Linked DNA regions of Homo sapiens: region 2 is linked to region 1. Evidence: promoter capture Hi-C in 16 types of primary human blood cells and fetal thymus (Javierre and others, 2016). All regions are on one chromosome and are shown on one strand. Each heading gives the region's core, a stretch centred on a gene start or on the middle of the fragment in contact. The rest is flanking DNA. Distances are from core to core; before and after follow the strand shown.

Region 1 (4,288 bases), core at 559-3,058:
ACCCCAGCTGGGCAAGGCCTGGGGGTCCTACTTACCCTACAAAGCAGTGCGCTGCCGTGAGCACCCAGGAGGCCGCTACCAGGACGCCGCCGCACAGAGGCTGCCCGCCGAGCTGCAGCCTCACCAGCCAGGGCCAGGCCCCGGGCGGCGCCGCGCTGCCCCCCACGATGCGGCCGTGGGCCCGCGTCACATTGGCAGTGCTCGGACGCCTCTCGCCGCACGGCCCTAGAAAGGGGCAAGGGGTGTCACGAGGGACATGTTCTGGCCATCCTCGCCTTCGAGGCCCACCCGGCTCTCAGGCCTGCCCCCTCGAGCCTTTTCAACCTCACCTGGCTCAGGTGGGTCCTGGAGGAGAGCTTGAGGCCTGGGGCGCCCAGATCCTGCAGAGAAACAGACCTTTGAGTCTCACTGCTGCCCTCTCGCCTGTCCTCACCCCAGGCTGGGCCGAGCCTCTCTCTCCCCATCTCTCCTTTCGCGCTCAGCCCTCCAGCCCACACGGGTTCTATTTCAGCAACCATGAACTTCTCCTGGTCACCACAGGAGCCCAGAGTGTTTCCGCCTCCCTGCCTTTGCACAGGCCATGCCCCAAGCCTAGCGTGTCCTTTCCACTCGGAGAGACAGACCTTCACAAACGTAGTCTAGGTTGCGGCCCAACACAGTCTCTGCCCCCAAGAGGAGAGTGAAGACTGAAGGGAAGGGACAGAGGCAGCAGAATGGGCCCAGGGTAGGCAGCAAGCTCACTGGGGCACGGGGGGCAGGGTGGGCACCTCGGCACTCGTGCGATCTGTGCTGGATCTCCATCGCCACTCGGTTTATTGCCCACTGGGCGCTCCTCTGGGCTGCCTGCAACGCCTGAGTCCCCTGGGCCGACAGAACTGCTGGGACAGGGGGCACACAATCATGCGTGGTTGGGGAAGAGCCTCAGCCTCATCCTCCTGGCCCCAGCCCTGAGCCCTGCCTCGGGAGACCCACCAGCCTGGGACAGAATGAGGAGGCAAGTGAGCCCCGGGGACGCTGGGCCCAGCACTCAGAGCCCGTGCTCCCAGGTTCTCAGCCCAAGATGTCTCCCTAATTCAACTGAGCTGGACTGGGATCTTTGAAAGGTGCTTTTCCTTAACAATTTTTTTTAAAGACACCACCCCAAAGATACAGACATCGCAGAACTCAGCTTTATTGACTGAAAGTAGCTGTGTTTGAGTGGCCCACCTTCGGCCGGGACAGCCAAGGGCAGGGTGCTGCCCCGGGCCGTTTCTCTCTGCTTCTTGGGGCCTTCTCTCCATTCCTTTCGGCATGCTCAACAGCTCCCCTTCCCTTTCCCGCCACACCCCTCCTCTCCCACCTATATCTCAGTTCTTGGCCCCTTCTCGCAGCAGGGTGGGCAGAAGGAGCCAAAGGTCCTTATGAGTGGGGGTGACAAGCTCTTCTGTCCCCGCCCGCCCAGGGTCCCACTTCCTCTACATTCCTCCCAACCCCGCGGCTCTCGGGCCAGCCTGGACTTACCTTGCAGGGCGCTGGGGGGCAGGCGTGTGTACAGTGGGTGCCCGTGGGCAAACCATGAGCTTGGGAGGGGTAGCAGCAGCAGCACAGCCAGCAGCATGGTGACCAGGAGCTGGGGTGAGAGACCCCTGTCCTCTCTCCTCCTCGGAGTCCACCTTCCGGGTGCCTATCCTTTGGTGCCCGCCTTCTGCTGCCTTTCGGCCCCCGGGCACTGAATTCTTGTCCCTCAAATCATCTGACCCCGTTCTCTTACATCAAAATTACCCGCCTCCCTGGTCAGCCCTCACCTGGCCCTTAACTCCTAGGAGCCCACAGGGGAATGGGGCTGCAGGGTCTTTATAGAGGACAGCCTGGGGGAGGGGTGCACGGGAGGGTGGCCAAGACTGGGGGAGGAGTGGGGTAGTGGGCTTGACCTTCACCTCTGAAGTCTCATCATCCCAGCTCCGAGCCCCCCTTCTGTCAAAGGAGCCCTTGTTTCTGCGGCTCCATCAAAGGGGCCAAGACAGGGAAGAAGGGCTGACGGTTGGGCTGCAGGCCAGGCAGAGGGGGGCTGCTGGGTGGGGGCGGGCCCTGGCTCCAGGGCTGGGATGGGGGGGGATCCCCATCTGCCTCTACCCCCTGAGGAGCTTACAGCTATGACGGGGCAGACACTCCTGGAGGGAGGAGGGCAGGGGGTGTCTGGGGTTTCTCAGCAGCCCCACCCCCTGAGGAAGCCCTGGAGCTCCCCACCCCTCTGCCCCTAATTGCTTGGCAGAGTCCCTCCCCAATGTGGCCATTTCTAAAGATGATCAAAGCAGCCTAATTAGCGCCGTAATTGCCGCACTGGGGGTGGTGGGGTGGGAAGGGGCAGAGGCAGGCAGCCGCAGGAGTGGCGCGGAAAGGGAGGCGGGAGATGAAAGGCCCACAGTGGCCCAGTTCCGGGAGGACAGGCCCTAGCAGCTTCTGACGCTCTCCCAGACCCCCTGGCCCTGCACAGTGCCCGCTCTGCCTGTCCGGCATTGTTCTGTGACCCTGATCTGGCAGTGGGATTCTTCTGGAGTCCTCTGGAGTCTCATGGGCAGGGCCACACAGCTCTCCTGGGACTGAGTTACCACCTGGGGTAGGATAGTGCCCGTCTGCGCTGCCCAGGCTCCCCAATTCATGTGAGGTGAACTGGTGGGAATATTTATCAGCAAATGCTATGACCCGGGGCTCTTTCCCCCTGGAGAGCCAGCTGTTCCACAGTGACCAGCACACCATGCTAAGGAGCCCTTTCCCCAGTTACCACCGCACCTCGCCATGACAATACCTCTACTTCAGGAATGCTCTGAAAATACTGTCTGCGGATGATTCTGGTGAGTGAATTTGGTGAAGTTGGAAAGGACTCTATTCACCAGAGTATCTGTCCATCTTGCAGGGTATCTTTTTATCCATGACCTCCACAATCTTGGTAGATAAGGCATTAGCTCAACACAGCTTGAATTTTAGCATAAACAGAGACAGTGTCCAAAGGAAGATCGCCTGCGGTTCCCAGTAAGAGCCACCAAAGCAGGGGACCCAGGAGCAGAGAAGGTGGGTGGGAAATCCTCACAGGCCTCTGTGAGGATTCGACAGAGCTTCAACAGAGCTTCTGCCCTGCAGGTTACTGCATCCAAGCTGAGGGGATAGGGATGGAGCCAGCCACCCAGGCAGCTCTATGGACGCTTCCCCTAGGGCATGCCTCCAGGAAGGTATGTCCTGCCCATTCTTGCCGAGTCACGCAGGCCAGGCCACAGCAAGCCCACACAGAGCCCCTGGGCCTCCCTCCTGCCTCTGGTCTTCAGGTGGGAGGCAGGGTGAGAATCCAGCCACTGCCAAAGAAAATGGAGGGAACTTTCTGCGTGGACTGCAATTCTGCTTAACCCCATTCTCCTGTTCTCTGATTCCTGTGCCCACAGCTGGGTCCCGAGCCCTCTCCTCTCTTCTGTATGGACCCACCCAACCAAGTCTGGCTCAATTTCATCCGCTCGCACAGGTTACCTCTTAGAAGCCACATTAAAATCCCACCTCATAACATTACTTTGTTTATTATTGTTTAAGCGTGCACTCACTCCCTGTCTGCTTCCTCCATTGGAATGTGATGGAGAGACTTCCAGGCCTCTATCCCTGCAGTCTCATTCTCTGTAACACAACCGTCTTCTATTTTCTTTATTTTTCTTTCTTTCTTTCTTTATATTTGAGGCAGGGTCTCACTCTGTCACCCAGGCTGGAGTGCAGTGGCACAAGTTACGGCTCACTGCAGCTTCGACTTCCTGGGCTCAAGTGATCCTCCTGCCTCAGCCTCCTGAGTGGCTGGGACCACAGGCATACACCACCATGCCGGCTAATTTTTAAATTTTTTGTAGAGACAGGGTCTCCCTATGTTGCCCGGGCTGGTCTGGAACTCCAGGGCTCAAGTGATCTGCCCACCTCAGCCTCCCAAAGTGCTGGGATTACAGGCATGAGCCACTGCACCTGGCCTCGGACTTTGTATTTTCTTTAGAGTATTTATTCCTATGTTGCAGGATGTTGATGGGGATTCTTGGCTGTTATAAGGGGCTCAGTCTCCTATAGTCTAGTTAAAAGGGTACCAGCAGTTGGCCCCAGACCTCCTCCCAGCGAGCAGCTCAATGCCAGGGACCTGCCGAAATCCATGCCATCCTCTATGGACCCTTCCCCGAGTGAATAGGAAAACAGGACAGGGGAGGGGGGCCTTGGCACAGCACAGCAGCTTCCCTCACTTCCCCAGCCAAGCTGGAAAGGACAGATGAGGTCCCAGGAGGAATCATGGAAT
Region 2 (4,288 bases), core at 825-3,324, 640 kb after region 1:
TAGGCAGGACACCCTGGCCAGTTGAAGAATGGGGCAACTGAAGACAGGAGCCAGTGTGCAGATAGGAGCTGCAGCATGGGAGGGGCCGAGGAGAGAGGGACAAAGAGACAGAGCGAGACACCAAGAGAGACAGAGGAAGATAGAGACATAGACAGAGACAGACGAGGACAGAGAGACAGAGGGAAATAGAGACATAGAGACAGACAGAGAGATACAGGGAGACAGACAGAGTTGGAGACACACACACATATACACACACACACAAACCCACCCAGAGAGAGAGAAACTACCCATGACTTTCTTAGGGCAAGTCAGTGGTGGGTTTCACAATAAATTCCACGAGAATCCATCTTTTATCAATTGGTCACTACATGACCAACTCACCAAGCTTAGTCAGTACACTGATTTTCCAGTCACCATTTTAGGGAATATGCTTTTTACATATTTAATATTATTCTTTACTATCTTACTGGCATTTTAAGAAATGTTTAAATTGTTGAGAATGAGAGGGTCAACTTAGCTTTTTTCTGATCACACTCTTTATATAATGATATTCCAAATTCATAACATATTCGATACAAGAATCTTTCAGTTTATACTGATTTCTCTTGAATTATTTTAAAAGTCATTTTCTGTTTTGCCAATATTTAGCGTTTTTATAATTCTTTTTACCAGTTTCTCTGAATGACCAATTTGATGAATTTAGCAAATGGACAGCCGATTCATTGCTTCTCGCTATTTATGAAGTTGACAAGCAATTTATATTTTATGTAATGGTTTTAAAAGAATTTGAAAGCAGTTTTGATTTTGTCTTCAGATGGCATTTGAAGGAATGTTCAGTTCTGTCCCAGAGCTACAGAGAGAGGGGAGAAAACATGAGAATCAGCACCCAGCACATTTGGGCTGCAGATTCCAGAAAGGGAGGCGGGGGCAGAGACAGGGAGAGGGTTTTGTTAGCTAGGAAGAAAGAGGCAATGGATCTTGGGTCCTGGCCACATGCAGGAACAAATGAAGGTTAGAGCAGACACACAAAGAAAGGGGAGTAGTTGTGGGGTGAGACCTGCAGGAAGGCCCTGGAGGAAGGACAGAGACCCCAGGGTGACTTGGTCTGGGCAGCTTTCCTGTCTCAGGCTTGGCATCCTAGAAACAAGCCCTATGTGAATCATTGTTCCTCGCAATGGGAGAAAACAATGTAGAGTACAAGTAATTAAATATTTACCAAACCCCAGGCACATGTACAACTCGATTGTTTCTGCTTTTATGCCCCTCTATAACAGTGTTATAGGCCGGGCACGGTGACTCATGCCTGTAATCCCAGCACAGTTTGGGAGGCCAAGGCAAGTGGATCATTTGAGGTCAGGAGTTCCAGACCAGCCTGGCCAACATGGTGAAACCCTGTCTCTGTTAAAAATACAAAAATTAGCTGGGCATGGTGGTGCATGCCTGTGGTCCCAGCTACTCAGGAGGCTGAGGCAGGAGAGTCACTTGAACCCGGGATGCAGAGGTTTCAGTGAGCCAAGATTGCACTCCAGCCTGGATGACAAAGCGAGACTCCAACTCAAAAAAAAAAAAAAAAAAAAAGAAAAGAAAAGAAATAAAAGTTATATTGAAAATAATTGGACATTGAGCTTTTCCCATGTTTAGAATTATTTTCTTAGGATAGTATTCCTAGAAATTAGTGGGTCAAAAAGTTAAAACATCAGCGTTCATGCCAAATGGCTTCCCCATTTGGGGTAAAGGGATTTTACCAGTTGATCCCAGAAACATCTGAGAGAGCCCATTGGCCTATACCCTCAATGCCCACTGAGTGTTTGCTCCTTAAGAAAATCCTACGGTTGGCCGGGCACAGTGGCTCACACCTGTAATCCCAGCACTCTGGGAGGCTGAGGTGGGTGGATCACAAGGTCAGGAGATCGAGACCATCCTGGCTAACACGGTGAAACCCTGTCTCTACTAAAAATACAAAAAATTAGCCGGGCATGGTGGTGGGTGCCTGTAGTCCCAGCACTTTGGGAGGCTGAGGCGGGCAGATCACAAGGTCAGGAGCTTGAGACCATCCTGGCTAACATGGTGAAACCCCGTCTCTACTAAAAATACAAAAAATTAGCTGGGCATGGTGGCGGGTGCCTGTAGTCCCAGCAACCCAGGAGGCTGAGGCAGGAGAATGGCATGAACCTGGGAGGTGGAGCTTGCAGTGAGCCACAATCGTGCCACTGCACTCCAGCCTGGGCAACAGAGTGAGACTCCATCTCAAGAAAAAAAAAAGAAAGAAAATCCTATGGTTTAGTGATCTACAGCTGAGAACTATGGAGGATAGTTTTCATTTCGCTCTTGAAACACATATCAAGCCCTACTGTCAACAGTCTTTCCTGTCACACATCTCACTGATTCCAACTCAGGGAGGGAGCTATGTCTTCTGGCAGCATTATTGCATTTGAGTCTCTTCTCTTTGAAATCCAATCTCCAATCGCTGAACCTGGAGATCAACATCAGAAAAAAAAAAAAAAAAGGCCGTGACTATCATAATTGTATGCAGTTAACATTCTCAGCAAGTAGACTGACCGGAAAAGGAGCTCCTATCGTGGAAGGAAATAATCGTGGGAGAAGCCCGGAGTATATTTTCTTTCTTTTTTTTTTTAATTTTGTAACAGAGTCTAGCTGTGTCACCCAGGCTGGAGTGCAGTGGCACGGTCTCAGCTCATTGCAATCTCTGCCTCCTGGGATCAATCGATTCTCCTGCCGCAGCCTCCCAAGTAGCTGGGATTACAGGTGCCCGCCACCACATCTGGCTAATTTTTGTATTTTTAGTAGAGACGAGGTTTTTCCGTGTTGGCCATGCTGGTCTCAAACTCCTGACCTCAGGTGATCCGCCTGCCTCGGCCTCCCAAAGTGCTGAGATTACAGACGTCAGCTACCACGCCCGGCCAGCCCGGAGTATATTTTCTAAAGTAGGAAACCTGGAAGGAGAATTACAACAAAATCCTTACACACATGGATTTTTAAAATGACGAGAGTGGATGGGAGACCTTGAGTCACTTCCCATCTCTTGATTCTACTGTCTCTCTTCTGCACCAAAGAGGAACAGGTGTGTATGTCGGTTAAGGGGTTGGTGGTGGCCTGAGTGGGGTCAAGAGGGTGGGGCAGGGCAGGGCCCTGTGTGAATCCTGATGTCTTTGTACAAGTGACTGTCCTCAGCCAACAAGAGACAAGTTCAGAAACTTAGTCTAAAAAGCCACATTGTTTTCTGCTTTGAAATGCTTTTAATTTAATAATCTAATTTAAAGACAGGGCGGGGCATGGGGGCTCACACCTGTAATCCCAGCACTTTGGGAAGCTGAGGCCGGAAGATCACTGGAACCCAGGAGTTCAAGACCAGCCTGGGCAACATAGTGAGACCCCCGTCACTACACAAAAAATACAAACAAATTAGCCAAGTGTGATGGCACATGCTACGGTCCCACCTATTCAGGAGGCTGAGGTGGGAAGATCACTTGATTCCGGAATGTCAAGGTGGCAGTGAGCTGTGATTGCGCCACTGCACTCTAGCCTCTAGCCTCAGCAACAGAGCAAAACCCTGTCTCAAAAAAAAAAAAAGTGTGTGTCAGAGCATATGAGTGTGTGCATATTCCAATCATGCACCTGCGTGCACCTGGGAGGGCAGGGGTTTAAGTTACAAATTCAGCACTGTCACTCAGTTACAAAAACACCCTCACACTCATTGCCCCTCTCAGCAGAAGAAAATGCTCTAGAGAAAGCTTTTGCCTTCACGCTGGTACAGAGTGAGAAAGCACTGTCAACATCTGAGTGGAAAACCCCAACATTCCGCGGCCTCGAGCAGGTCTCTGCTGGAATCCTGAGGACAGGCTTTGTTCCTGTGTCTGGCCAGCTGCCCAAACACTGACAGTCTACTGTTCTAAAATCCTTAGGTATCATGAGGCTCTGGGTGACCAACAGGAGTGCTCTCAGAGTTTGAGATCCCAAAAAGGGGGTAATAAGGTCTCTTTGCAGGGCCCAGACCCGAGCCCCCAGGATCCCACCAGGGCCTCCGGACCTTTACAGAGGGCTCTCTGCTCATCCAATCCAGGTTTCTCCTCCACTCTGATAGGGGAGGGCTCCTTCCCATCTCCTGGAGGTCCTGTTGCCTCCTGGTCTCATCTGCCCTCTGGCAGAGTCCTGGAGGAAAAGCCAGGAGCAGCAGGTGGGGAGGCCGAGTGCCTCCGCAGAAAACTGCAGTCAGCCAGGCGCGGTGGTTCATGCCTATAATCCCAGCACTTTGGAAGGCCAAGGC

What was found. Contacts are between HindIII fragments. The CHiCAGO score rates a contact against its expected background, and 5 or more counts as called.
Region 2: a contact is called between a fragment that was not itself captured here and the fragment with the promoter of PRSS56 in region 1, in 1 of 17 cell types (endothelial precursors). The highest score is 6.1, in endothelial precursors.

Annotation. Positions count from the first base shown.
Region 1 is chr2:232,517,908-232,522,195 of GRCh38, reverse strand. PRSS56 (serine protease 56) reads right to left here and starts at 1,808. Exons shown (of 13, transcript NM_001195129.2): 1 at 1,501-1,808; 2 at 768-875; 3 at 330-380; 4 at 36-225. The coding sequence starts at 1,597. RefSeq lists a silencer at 1-25. The HindIII fragment of the contact is 25,422 bases long and covers 1-4,288 here.
Region 2 is chr2:231,877,546-231,881,833 of GRCh38, reverse strand. No RefSeq gene overlaps it. Among named protein-coding and RNA genes, the nearest start is that of MIR1471, 13 kb to the left of the region's middle. The HindIII fragment of the contact is 3,367 bases long and covers 391-3,757 here.